Regions from separate parts of the Homo sapiens genome. Here region 1 is linked to region 2. The links are contacts of gene promoters, found by promoter capture Hi-C in blood cells and fetal thymus (Javierre and others, 2016). All regions are on one chromosome and are shown on one strand. Each heading gives the region's core, a stretch centred on a gene start or on the middle of the fragment in contact. The rest is flanking DNA. Distances are from core to core; before and after follow the strand shown.

Region 1 (5,742 bases), core at 659-3,158, 260 kb before region 2:
AGCACCAGGGAGCCAGGCTGGAGCCCCAAGAACAAAGCAGGCCCCCAAGAGAAGAGCTGAGAGGATAGCTCCGTGCTCCTGCTGTCTCTACTGGGCCTCAGAAGTCAGCCATCTGGTTGGTGAAGGGCACTGCCTGTGGTGGCCCAGGAACATAAAGGGCTAGGGCTCCCTGTGGGACAGAGAAGCAGCTGGGCAGGGTAGGGCAGGGGTCTGGGGAGGCTGGTATTGGAGGAGCTCCATTTTATCATTTGTCGGGGAGATAGGGGGCCATTTTGGAAAAAGAAAACCAAAAGGTAGGTGTAAGTTGATGGGGAATTGGGAACTTGAGGGTCAGCTCCTTTGAGAATCTCATGAAATTGAGACCCTGATGACTTTCACCCTGGACAGATGGCTCAAGATGTTGCATAACAAAGTCCTGAGTGGTGGCTTATATTTATAATCCCAGCACTTTGGGAGGCCAAGGCAGGAGGATCACTTGAGCCCAGGAGTTTGAGATCAGTCTGGGCAGCATAATGAGACCCCGTCTTTTAGAGGGGGAAAAAAGATTTTGCATAACATATGGAGGTGGGCAGTGACTGAAGAGTGAGGAATCATTTTCTAGCACATACTTCAAGACCAGTAGGCTGGTGTGATTTGGATGCCACAGGCCCTCCATAAAGACCCAGCCCTGCTGCCCATGGCCCTGAGCTGGAGAGAGTGCTAATGTTTGCCAACTCATGTGATGTTTTCCCAGTGGAAGTAAAGCCTAGGCCTGAAATTCAGTGAGGGTGGGCAGAGGGCTTTGCCTGCAGTGGCCCCCGGCTCACAGCCCTGCTCCTTCCACTGCAGGAGGAAGAGCCACTCATCCTCTCCACAGAGTGTCCTCTGGAACCGGCCACAACCCTCAGAGGACCGCTTGCCTTCCCAGCAGGGGCTGGCGGAAGCCAGGTCTTCCAGCTCCTCTTCCTCAAACCATTCTGATAACTTTTTCAGGATGGGTAGCAGTCCCCTGGAGGTCCCCAAACCCAGGTGAGGAGCTCCAAAGCCCTTGCTGTTGGAAGTGCCTAGCTTTCCCCCTTAATAAGACTGGAGGGTCGGGGGCCAGCACCTGAGCTAGGGTCTCAAGATGGGGTTCCTAAGCTTGCAGGCCCAGTATTTGGAGGATGGGTTAGTGTTTGGTAATAAAGCAAGGGCTGATTTGTAGAGTGGTTTGAGACTCCTTCCTCGAACCCTAGCATAATGCAGGGGAACCCAGAAGTGCCGTGGCTGTTATGTGATAGGTGGGGAATAGGGACTGCCTCCACTTGTTACCTTTGGCAGATCCCAGCCTCCTAGGCGCACCTCCCATTGTGATTGAAGAGATAGATCTAGATTCTGAGTCCCTTCTGGCTCCCACATCTAAAGTCTGAATTGGTGGGGCAGTGAGAACAGTGTTAGGGAGCTGAGCTACATGTGTGTGGCTGGGACAAACGATGGTGACTGCACACCTGGAAAGGGAGCAGCTCAGCCAGGATGGCCATGCCAGGGCCGTGGCTGAAGGGCGCTGCAGGAATGGTGCCTCCTGGGTGAGTTTAAAGCTGAGCACAGGCCAGAGGCTAGGATTGAGGGCTGGTCTGGCACTTGGGGAAAGCATTTCCTACCACTTTCATACTCCCATCGAAAGAATCCTGTGAATTGCTTTGTGTTCTAAAGTTTTGAGAATGTCTAGCCTTTCTGGAGTGAATAAAGCAGCGTGGGACTTCAGGCCCTTAGTGAATTCCAGGGAAAAAGGGGCATTTAGAAGAATGGGCATGAGCTTTGGCATCCATCCCAGGTTCAAGTCAAGCTCTGCCACATGTCCATGTGATTTTCAGACTCAGTTTAGTCCTTGGTAGTAATAGGTCTGTTAAGAAGAAAAACATTCTGAAACTTCTGGAACCTTCCTCCCATCACCCCTCTATGGTTTTTCCCTCTGGGCAAAAACAGGCAATGAAGGAAGTTGGGGAAGAACATCCTCTGCACATAGGCAGAGCAGATAAGCGGGAGGCAAGTGGGCGTTCCAGACTGCACTGCCCACAGGGGCCCCATGTGCTCACCCCTGCGTGAACTCTTCAGCTCAGAACACTGCCTGAGTGCTGGAGCTGAGCCTGTGAAACCACCGCCACACGCCGTCTGGCCCCATGGGAGGTGTGGTGGAAGTGGTGGGGCAGAGATGGGGCCAGACAGACAAGCCCATGTGCCGGTGCCCCGTCCCATCCTGTGTGTGCATGCCTGCTGCCGCACCACCCTTGTCTGTGCCCAGCTGTCCTCAGGGCCACTCTGAGGCTGCAGTGGCACTGTTTGACCCTCACTGTTCTAGGCTGTGGCTCTAGGTCATGGTTCCTGCCCCCTTTTCTGCCTGTCCAGCATTGCTGAACAACTAGGGAGGAAACCAGAGGTTCCTCTTGTCCTCTGGGTCCTGCCTCAGTCTTAACTGCCCAGAATGCAGTGAGCTCCCAAGCTGAGGCAGCACCCCATCACCCGTTACCACACCCTGGCTCTCCATCTCCTGCCTGCCAAAAGATCCCACTTTCCAATCCTGTGATAGTGTCCCTCAGTCTCACAGGTGACTTTCTGCTTGCAGGGCGTGTCTCAGGCTCTTGTAGCCAGTCCAGGATGGCCACCAAGGCCCCCTCTTGGGAGGCTGAGGAGAATTGGGGTTGTCCTCCTGACCTCAGAGCCCTGCACATGGGGGCTTGGCCAAGCTTGGGATAGCTGGACCAAGATGGGTGCAAGGCTTTGAAAGGTGTGGGGTGGGCAGCTGTGAGGTGTTTGATCTTTCCGCTGGTCTGTTTGGGGGATGCCTGTCTGGAGCCAGACTTCTTCTGACTTGGATGCCTGTTGGTCAGAGGTTTTGAAAGTCTAGATTACTCAGATTTGGAGCATTCTAATTATGTATTTCCATTACCATTAAAATTAATTTAGTCTCTTATCTTAAAGTGCCTAAGGGATCCTGTCATTACCCTCCCTGCTTCTTAGGTAACAATAGCCTGTGAGGTCTTTAATGTGGTAGGAGAAGCTGTTTGGAAAGAAACCTTTTAGTGAAGCTGTCTGTGACAGCCAAAATTCTCCTAATGTGAATTCTTTGGGTTTTTATACACTCCAAATTCTACAGGCATCTCTCTTTTAAAGCAGGATTCCCCCATGGAATGAATCTGTGAAGCTTTGTTCAAAGTTAAGTAGTAGGTATGAATCAGGTTGGGAAGAAAGTTCTGTGGGGTGCCAATTCTTACTAACCCCGAGCCCACAGCCCTTACTGGCAAGCCCAGTGGTTTTTAATCATTGTTAGCTGTTGTTGCTGCAGCAGCTTCTGATTAAGTTGCATTTCTGGACCATTGTTAAATCTCTCATCAGCGACAGGGTTGAGGGCTGGGACAGGCCAGGACCAATGCTCTGAGCTCACATGCCTCCCCCAGCTCTGGTTAGCAGGTCGCTCCACCTTGCATGGCCTCGGCCTCGGCCTCTGCTCTGGAGTCATGCATCCTTTAGGAGTAGGGAGGTTGCTAGCACAGGATTGTCCATGCCCAAGGAGGGTTGGTGCCACCACTGAGCCCAGCTTGAAGCCAGGCTACCTGAAGAGCAGGTGAAGTTTGCGGAGGGATGCCCAGCAGCCTGGTTGAATAGCTGAGTAGCAACACAGGGACCAACCTCTGCTGCCCAGTTAGCTACTCTTCCCCCAGCCACCACCACCTGCTAACTGCTCTTTGAGCAACGAGCTCTGTCTTAGGCTGTCTGCTTGTGGGTGGGAGCAGGGTAAGTTTAGATTAGGTGACAGCCAGGTCCCCTCAGAGCCCAGGATTCTATATCTTAGCTCAAGTATTAACTCTGTGTGACTTCATGACATGTCACTTGATGACTTTGGGTTTCCATTTTCTTATCTGTGTAATCAGAGGCTTAGGTAACGCCAAGGTCCTTCCTAGCTGTATACCTTCAAACCTTCTGTATCAGCCTTGTCAGATGTTTTCAAATGCAAGTAACAGAAAACACATTTCAAACTGACCGAAACAATAAAGGAAACACATTTACAGTCAGCCCTCCATATCTGTCGTTTCCACATCCATGATCAGCCAACCAGATTGAAAACATTCAAGATAACATAAACAATAGAAAGTAATACAGATGTGAACATGCAGTGTAACAACCATGTACAGAGCACTGACACTGTATCAGATAATCGAGATGATTTAAAGCATATGGGAGGATGTGCATAGGTTATATGCAAATACAAGTGACTCTTGAACAATGCAGGGATTAGGGCTGTCCCCTACACATGCAGTTGAAATCTGGGTATAACTCTGACTCCCCAAAAGCTACAGATAGCCTGCTGTTGACTAGAAGCCTTACCAATAACATAAAGTCAGTTAACACATGTTTTGTATATCTGTTATATACTGTATTTTTAGGTAAGCTAGAGAAAAATAAAATGTTAAGAAAATCATAAGGAAGGGAACCTATATTTCCTGTGTGTTCAGTAGAAGTGGATCATAATAAAGGTCTTCATGCTGAGGAAAAAATAGAGGGAGGGGCTGTCTTGCTGTGTAGGGCAGCAGAGGCAGGAGATAATCTGCATATGAGTGGACCTGTGCAGTTCATGCGTGTGTTCAAGGATCAGCTGTGCTACTACATTTTATGTAAGGGACTTGAGCATCCAAGGACTTGGTATTGGTGGGGTGGTAAGTGGGTGGCAATCCTGGAACCAATTCCCTGCAACAAAAAGGAATAATAAGGAACAACTGTATATGGAAAAGCCTAGTGGAAAATCAGTCTTCAGGTGCAGCCTGATCAAGGTTCCAGCTCTATTTCCCCGTAGTTTGTTCCCATTGCCTCCTGCATGTTAGCTTTGTTCTCTGGCCAGCTTCCCTGATGGTGGCAAAATGGCTGACAGCACCTCCCAGGATGACACGCTGCTTCCTTTCTCACATCCAGGGTCAGATGAGAGCCTCTTTTTTCAGTTATAGGTAGAAGCTGTGTGCTTTACTCCCGTTGGAGGTTACGTGGTGGTCCATGAACCAATTTCTGAGTCACCCACCCCTTATCAGGAAGAAAGATGAGTATATTATCAGCAAGGGCTTTGGTCAGACCTGGGTTTCCGTCGTAGCTTTGCAGTCCTAGCTGTCTGACTTGGAAAAATCACTTCCTTTCTGAGCTCAGTTATTTTATCCTGTTTTTAAAGGGGGAAAAATGATTCAGGCCCCCCTCCCGTAAGTTTGGGTTAAAATGAAATAATGGGTTGGGCATGGTGGCTCATGTCTGTAATCCAGCACTTTGGGAGGCCAAGGTCAGAGAATCGTTTGAACCCAGGAATTCAAGACTAGGCTGAGCACCATAGTGAGACCTTGCCAATACAAAAGATAGATTAGATAGATAGATTGGATGGATGGATGGATGGATGGATGGATTGGGATGGACTGGGATGGACTGGGATGGATGGAGTAAATACTCATAGTAGATACCTTTTCACGAATGCTCAGTAAACTGTAGCTGTGGTTAAGGACTTGGCCTTAGTCATTTGTCCGAGAGCCTGTAGGCTCTGTCATGGCACTAGGCAGCTGCGTAAAAGGCCAGGCCTCCATCCCGACCTGTGTATTCTTGCCTGGGTTGAGCCAGCTCGGTTTGTGTGAGTATTCTTGTACCCCCTTCCAGAAAGGACTAGCTAAAAGACACCTGCTCTGAGTTGGCCATCAGCAGGGCATCGGGGGAGTTGGGAGCCGGTAGGAACTGCAGCTCTGGGTGCTGTGAAGAGGG
Region 2 (6,485 bases), core at 1,404-3,903:
CTTGAGCCATCTGGAGGTCATCAGTTACTGGGAGTCGTTCTCTCTGAGCTCCTTGTGCTGCTTTGGGCCCGTACAGGGCTGGGCCAAGGGGAGAGGCTACAGGCTTCTCAGGCATCTCTTCAGCAGGGGCGTGGCGGACATCAGAGTTCCTGTGACTGTCAGCTCTGGGGTTCTCCGGGAACACGTCAAAGGCCTGGGGCTCTGAGCCCACAGAGCCCTTGGGGTGGGCTCCAGGGATCATAGGGATTTCGGAGTTTTCAAGTGGCCTGGGAAAGCCCCTCCCCAGGGCAGGGCCAGTCCCCAGGAGTGGCAGCAGCAACAGCAGAAGGCCACATACACAGCCCCATGGGCTGGAGGCCATGGTCTACTCCGATGCCTGGGCCTAAAGCCCCCACCTTCCAGTCCTCACTGGATGAGCCTAAAAAAAAAACAGGGCATGGAATGACATGTGAGGGCTGGGGGCCCCCATGCCTTCCTCAAGGGGCTGACAGGAAAGAAAAGCAACGCAAGGCAGCAGCTTCTCTGCTTTTAAAATTGCTGGACGTGGCACTTGCCCTGCTTTAAAACCTTCAGTGGCTCCCCATTTCCCTCAAGAAAGAACATAAGCTCCTCTCCTGGCCTTCCAAGACCCTGGCCACCACAAGCTGTTCATCTGTCCTCCAACACCCACTGGACTGTGTGGCTCCCATGCCTTTTGCTTCTGCTGTTCTGTCAGCAGGGAATGCTCTCTCCCTTCCCCTTCACTTACTGAAATCCTGTTCTTTTTGAGACGGAGTCTTGCTCTGTCGCTCAGGCTGGAGTGCAGTGGCGTGATCTCGGCTCACTGCAACCTCCACCTCCCAGGTTCAAGTGATTCTCCTGCCTCAGCCTCCCGAGTAGCTGGGGTTACAGACATGTGCCACCACACCTGGCTAATTTTTATATTTTTAATAGAGATGGGGTTTTGCCATGTTGGCAAGGCTAGTCTTGAACTCCTGACCTCAGGTAATCTGCCCATCTTGGCCTCCTAAAGTGCTGGGATTACAGGCATGAGCCACTGCACCCTGCCTGAAATGTTATTCCTAAAGGCCCACTTCAAAAATGAGAGACGTGGAGAGGGAGAGGAATATGCACCGGCCTTTGGCGAGGGGCCTGAGTTTGAATCCCAGTGTCTTCATTTCCTGGGGGAGTCATTTCACCTCTCTGCATCATAGTTTTCCCATCAGTAAAATGGGGATAATAAGCATGCCTAACTCAAGGCATGAGACAAATAACCAAACAGGTATGGGCGAGGTTCATACCTGATGCTTGACAAGCGTTACACATTCCTCTTCCCGCCTTCCTTCCCTCATCTTCCTGGGCACTTGTCACTCTGGTCTGATTCTATAATAATCTCCTGCCTCTTATTTCAAACCTGCAGCCTCCAGTATATACCTGGCCCCACGTGGATATCCCCTAAAAGTTCCTGTTCTCGAGAGCCTGTCAGTGGGCCAGGGAGGCAGGAAGGGGCCCCACCACCAGGAGAGGTTTCATGGAGGGTGCGAGAGCTGAAGCCTGGGTGTGTTTGGCGGCAGAGGCCCTGCTCTTTTCCTCTCTGGGGAGCAGCTGTCCCCAAAGCTTCCTGGCTGTTAACCCATGGTGGCTCACAGACACCTTAAGAAGCCACTGAAAACCCCTGGTGCTCTCCCGGGGAAAAGACCCAGGCTCACCGAAAGTTGTGAACAATTTCAAGGGGTTCAAAGACCTTTGAGTCCCATCCTCCAAACTCGAGTTTAGACTCTGTCTTAAAGCCTTGTTAGTTCATTTCTCAAACATTCACGGAGCCCCATGGGCTGCTCCTGGTCTAGGCTAGGTGCTGGGGGCCCAGAGACAGGGCTTTGCTCCAGGGTTGGGAGTAGGGGTGCGCTGAGACGCCCCTAACACAGGTACTGGCTAAAAACAGTGCTCCTGTGTTTAGTTCTTTCCCAGTGAGGCTCCTGCGCTGAGCTTAGCAACACGTCACTCCGCCCTCCCAATACAAGGTGTGGGAACAGCCATTTCACAGGGGGAAGAAACGGGGGTTCAGAGAGGGTGAGCAACTCCCCCAAGGTCACACAGCTGAGTGGACACAATCGGGGTTGTGAAACCCTCGGAGGCTCATCTTCCACAGGAGGTCCAAAAAGCTTTGCCGAGAAAACGGCTGAATGGGGCCTCCAAAGATAAACATGCCATCTGCCTACCACTGCCAACCCAAGAGATGTGGGCACCTGCGGACAAGGCGGGGGCTTGCCCAGCCCTGGGCTCCCACTCTGCTGGAGAGGCTGTGGGGGGTGGCGGATCTCTCTGCCGCAGGGACTGGGGAGAGGCCGGCCTGGGGGCAGGGCGAGGCCGTTGCGGGGCAGCCTCGGAGCTGGTCCATCTCGGGTTACCTCTCCTCCTCCTCCTCCTCCTCCTCCGTCTCCTCTCTCCCTGGCTCCGCGCCTTCCCGCAGTGTCCTGGATGGGGGTGGGCGCCGTGCAGGCCTGGTCGCCTGCGCCCGCGACGGGGGCAGCAGGCCACGCTCCCCGTCGGGGTCCCGCCATCGCCCCCTCCCTGGGCCAGCTCCTCACCTGCGCGCCGCAGCCCCCGTGTTCACCTTGCGCGCGTCCCTGCAGCCGATCGCCGCGCCGCATCCTCCGAGATGCTCAGACTCGGCTAACAGAGCCCGGCGCTGCCGATCGCGAGCCCGCCCACAGGAGCGCAGCCCTGCTTAACTCTTTCCCCTTAGGGGTGGACTCTTCTGTCAACCCTGACTTCCCCTCGCTCAGGGATTGTCAGGGCTCAGAGTGGAACCGAGGTCATCTCTGAGGGATGTGGAAATGTCTTCTGCAGCATCCCTGAAAACGGGGCAGCTAGCCTCTGCTTGCATACCTCATGGGACGGGGAGCTCACTTCCTTTCTATATCCCTACATCCTTTTAGGTAAATCCTACCTACAGCTTGGTATGTATCCTTCAGATTCTTCTCAATGTACAGTTACATGTACATCTTAAATAGAAATGACATCATACTGTATACTTTTTTTTTTTTTTTTTGAGACAGTCTTGCTCTGTCGCCCAGGCTGGAGTGCAGTGGCGTGATCTCGGCTCACTGCAACCTCCGCCTCCCAGGTTCAAGTGGTTCTCCTGCCTCAGCCTCCCTAGTAACCATGCCTGGCTAATTTTTATATTTTTAGTGGAGACAGGGTTTCACCATGTTGGCCAGGGTGGTCTCGAACTCCTGACCTCAGGTGATCAGCCCGCCTCGGACCCCCAAAGTGTTGGGATTACAGGCGTCAGCCACCGTGCCCAGCCACTGTACACATTTCTGTAATTTGTCTTTTTCACTTTCCAATATATTCTGGCACATTTTTCATGTAAATATCTATAGATCTATATCATTTCTTGTATCCACTGTTGAGAATTCCAGCATATGGTCAGCTAGTTATTGTTCTTTATCCTGTCCCCTGTAATTGGACATAGGTTGTTTCTAGCCTTTTGCTCGCAGGGATAATGGAGCAGGGGCCATTCCTTGCTTAACACATCACTGTGCACGTACACTAGTGCACCTACCAGATAATTGCCTAGCCGAGGCATGGTAGTAAAATCTATGGGTCTGCATATGGGGCTGGTAGACACTGTCAAAATGTTCTTGGTCTTTCTTTGAACACCTCTTGATATACTAAACATCCATTATTAGGCTCAATTCCTTAAGGGAAAGCCACACAGGAAATATATGTGGTTATCAAAAATGAGATAGGGCTGGGTGCAGTAGCTCACACCTGTAATCCCAGCACTTTGGGAGGCCTAGAGAGGAGGATCATTTTGAGCCCAGGAGTTCAAGACCAGCATGGGCAAGATGGTGAGACTTTTTTAAATTAAAAAACAAACAAAAAAACAAAAAAACTAGCTGGGCGTGGTGGTACATGCCTGTAGTCCTACCTACTCCAGAGGCTGAGGCCAGAGAATCATTTGAGCCCAAGAGGTCAAGATTGCAGTAAGCTATGGCCACTGGAGTGTCACTGGAGTGCATTGACCACTCTGTCCATTGACCACAAGCTGTGTCACTGGAGTGCAATGACCACTGCACTCCAGCCTGGGCAGTAGAGCGAGACTGACAAAAAAAAAAAAAAAAAAAAAAAAGAAGAAGAAGAAGAAGAAGAAAATTTGGCCTGTATAATGGCTCATGCCTATATTCCCAGCACTTTGGGAGGCCAAGGCTGGAGGACTGCTTGAACCCAGGAGTTCGAGACCAGCCTGGGCAACATGGCAAAACCCCATCTCTACCAAAAAAAAAAAAAAAAAATTAGCCAAGTGTGGTGGTGCGCACCTGGGTCCCAGATACTCAGGAGGGTTATGTGGGAGGATCACTTCAGTCCAGGAGCCAGAGGTTGCAGTGAGCCAAGGTCGCACCACCGCACTCCAGCCTGGGTGACAGAAAGAGACCCAGTATCAAATAAAAAATCAAATTTCACTTAAAAAAGAAAAAGAAAAAATTCTTCCTAGGGCTGAGCTGACATCTCCCTCCCAATGGCTTCCTACCTCTAGCTCTCACAGAAAAGCAATACTCAGGCCCCAGTTGTGTCTGACGTGTTGCAGTTTGAAGAATATTCCATCCCTAATGGCTGGTAAATGGTGGGGCCTGCATTCAGCTGCTTGACTCTGGGAGAGGGTGCAGGCCTTGCCCGTTTCACACATGACCTGACCAGCTCTGTTTTCCTTGTTGGAGCCACTTCAGAATTGTAAAGGCATCTCTCATTTCTCTAGAGTCTTCTTTCTCCAGGACAAACACTCCGAGTTTTTCAGCTGTTCCTTGCAGGACAGGATTCTGGGTTCTCACCATGTGGAATCTCTTCTCTGTTTGCTTCTTACCAGCTCAACAACGCCCCTCTGAAAGTAGGACTCTTGGAAATGAACCTTGTTGGGAGTAAAGCTGAACCTTCACCTCTCCTTTCCAGGATTCTACTCCATTCATACGGCCTCACACTGAATTAATGTTTCTAGCAGCCACATTACTTTGTTACCCAATTGATCTAGTAGTAAAGTCTTCCCATCTCTTCATGTACCACTGGTTTATTGACTCTTAATGTAGGATTCTACATTTGTTTGTTGTTTATCTTGTTAGATCCAGCCTGTTGTTACAATCTTGTAGGAAGTTAACTGGATCCTGATTCTACATATAGCTGATTGACATTTTGGAGGGTTTTGCAATAACCATTTCCCTTCCTGACAGCATCCTAACTTCCTTTGGGGGACCTGTGTCTGTTCCCATGTGGGCAGTCTTGGCCAGAATGCAGTCCTAGGGCCCCCTACAGAAGCTGAGGAGTCTGGATCCTTCCTCTCACTTCCCCTTGTGAACTCGCTGGGAGCCTCCTTTGGAGATGTTGAGATTCCCTCCACAGGCTCAGAGCTGGCCCGGTTCCCTTCCTCAGTTTCTCCTGAGAAGGGCAGGTGTGTGAGTGCCTGACCTCCCAGTCCATGCAGGGCCATCTGGCTGCTTGCTGGCTGCCCTCTTTGGAACCAGGGGCCCCAATCCCATCGCGTTTCTAAACCACCAACCGGCAGGCATTCTGAGATTCCAAACAAATGCAAGAGAGATTAGGATCCCTTTGGCTAGAGGCCAAGGTGAAAGCTGATCCTGCGGAAAGAGGAGACTGGCTGGGGTGGAGGTGAATGTAAGCGGGGAACACGAGGTGCGCAGGTGTGGACGGGGAGTATCTCAGCTCCAGATGGAGCTCCCAGCATCCTTCTGCAGACTCTGGGACGGCGGGGATAAATGGAAGGTGACTCCAAGTATACAAGGGATGGTCAATATCTCCTGTTCACCAAGCACTTGGTCTGCCAAAAACTATGCTACACACCATTATTCTTTTTAAGTCCTCATGACAACCCTAGGTTTTATGTTTTTCATTATACAGCTGGCAAGCTGAAGCTCAGAGAAGTTCAATAACTTGTTAAAGGTCATGCAGCAACTAAGGGGCCAAGCCACAGGCCTGACTTTAGAACTAGTGCTCTTTGTTTTGAGATGGAATCTTGCTTTTGTATTTTTAGTAGAGGCAGGGTTTCGCCATGTTGGCCAGGCTGGTCTCAAACTCTTGGCCTCAAGTGATCAGCCTGCCTCGCCCTCCCAAAGTGCTAGGATTACAGGCATGAGTCACCACGCCTGGCCAGAACCAGTGCTCTTAATAGTAATGACACCCTCCTGCCCCTCTGGAAGAACCTGAGAGAGGAAAGTGGGGGAGAGGGAAACCCCAGGCCTTCCAGGCGGCCCCTACTGTGTTAGGAGTTAATTGAGTCCATGAAAATAGGCCCTCCAGTTTGGATCTCTGTTGACTTCAAACCAACAGAGCTGAAAGTTGTTGTGACTCCCCAAGGAAAGAGTGAGAAAGAAAAGGCAAAGAAGATGGGGCTGGCAATGATGAAATCTCCTGCTTAGACAAAGCCCAGGACAGTTGGTTGGCATTTTCATTCTGGCTGGTTGCTCTGGCAGGCATGAGAAAATAAACAAAAG

The links. The method cuts DNA at HindIII sites, captures the fragments that hold promoters and counts their contacts. A CHiCAGO score of 5 or more calls a contact.
Region 1: a fragment that was not itself captured here is called in contact with the fragment with the promoter of PRRT3 in region 2 in 1 of 17 cell types (monocytes); the score reaches 5.2 in monocytes.

The regions. Positions count from the first base shown.
Region 1 is chr3:9,689,136-9,694,877 of GRCh38, forward strand. MTMR14 (myotubularin related protein 14) reads left to right here. Exons shown (of 19, transcript NM_001077525.3): 17 at 829-1,008. LOC124909344 (a long non-coding RNA gene) reads right to left here. Exons shown (of 2, transcript XR_007095816.1): 2 at 4,369-5,742. Among named protein-coding and RNA genes, the nearest start is that of CPNE9, 12 kb to the right of the region's middle. The HindIII fragment of the contact is 1,583 bases long and covers 1,118-2,700 here.
Region 2 is chr3:9,949,755-9,956,239 of GRCh38, forward strand. It overlaps PRRT3 (proline rich transmembrane protein 3), which reads right to left and starts at 2,654. Exons shown (of 4, transcript NM_207351.5): 1 at 2,568-2,654; 2 at 1-418. The coding sequence starts at 361. PRRT3-AS1 (PRRT3 antisense RNA 1) reads left to right here. Exons shown (of 4, transcript NR_046734.1): 4 at 4,850-5,033. RefSeq lists a silencer at 2,153-2,692. The HindIII fragment of the contact is 9,295 bases long and covers 2,140-6,485 here.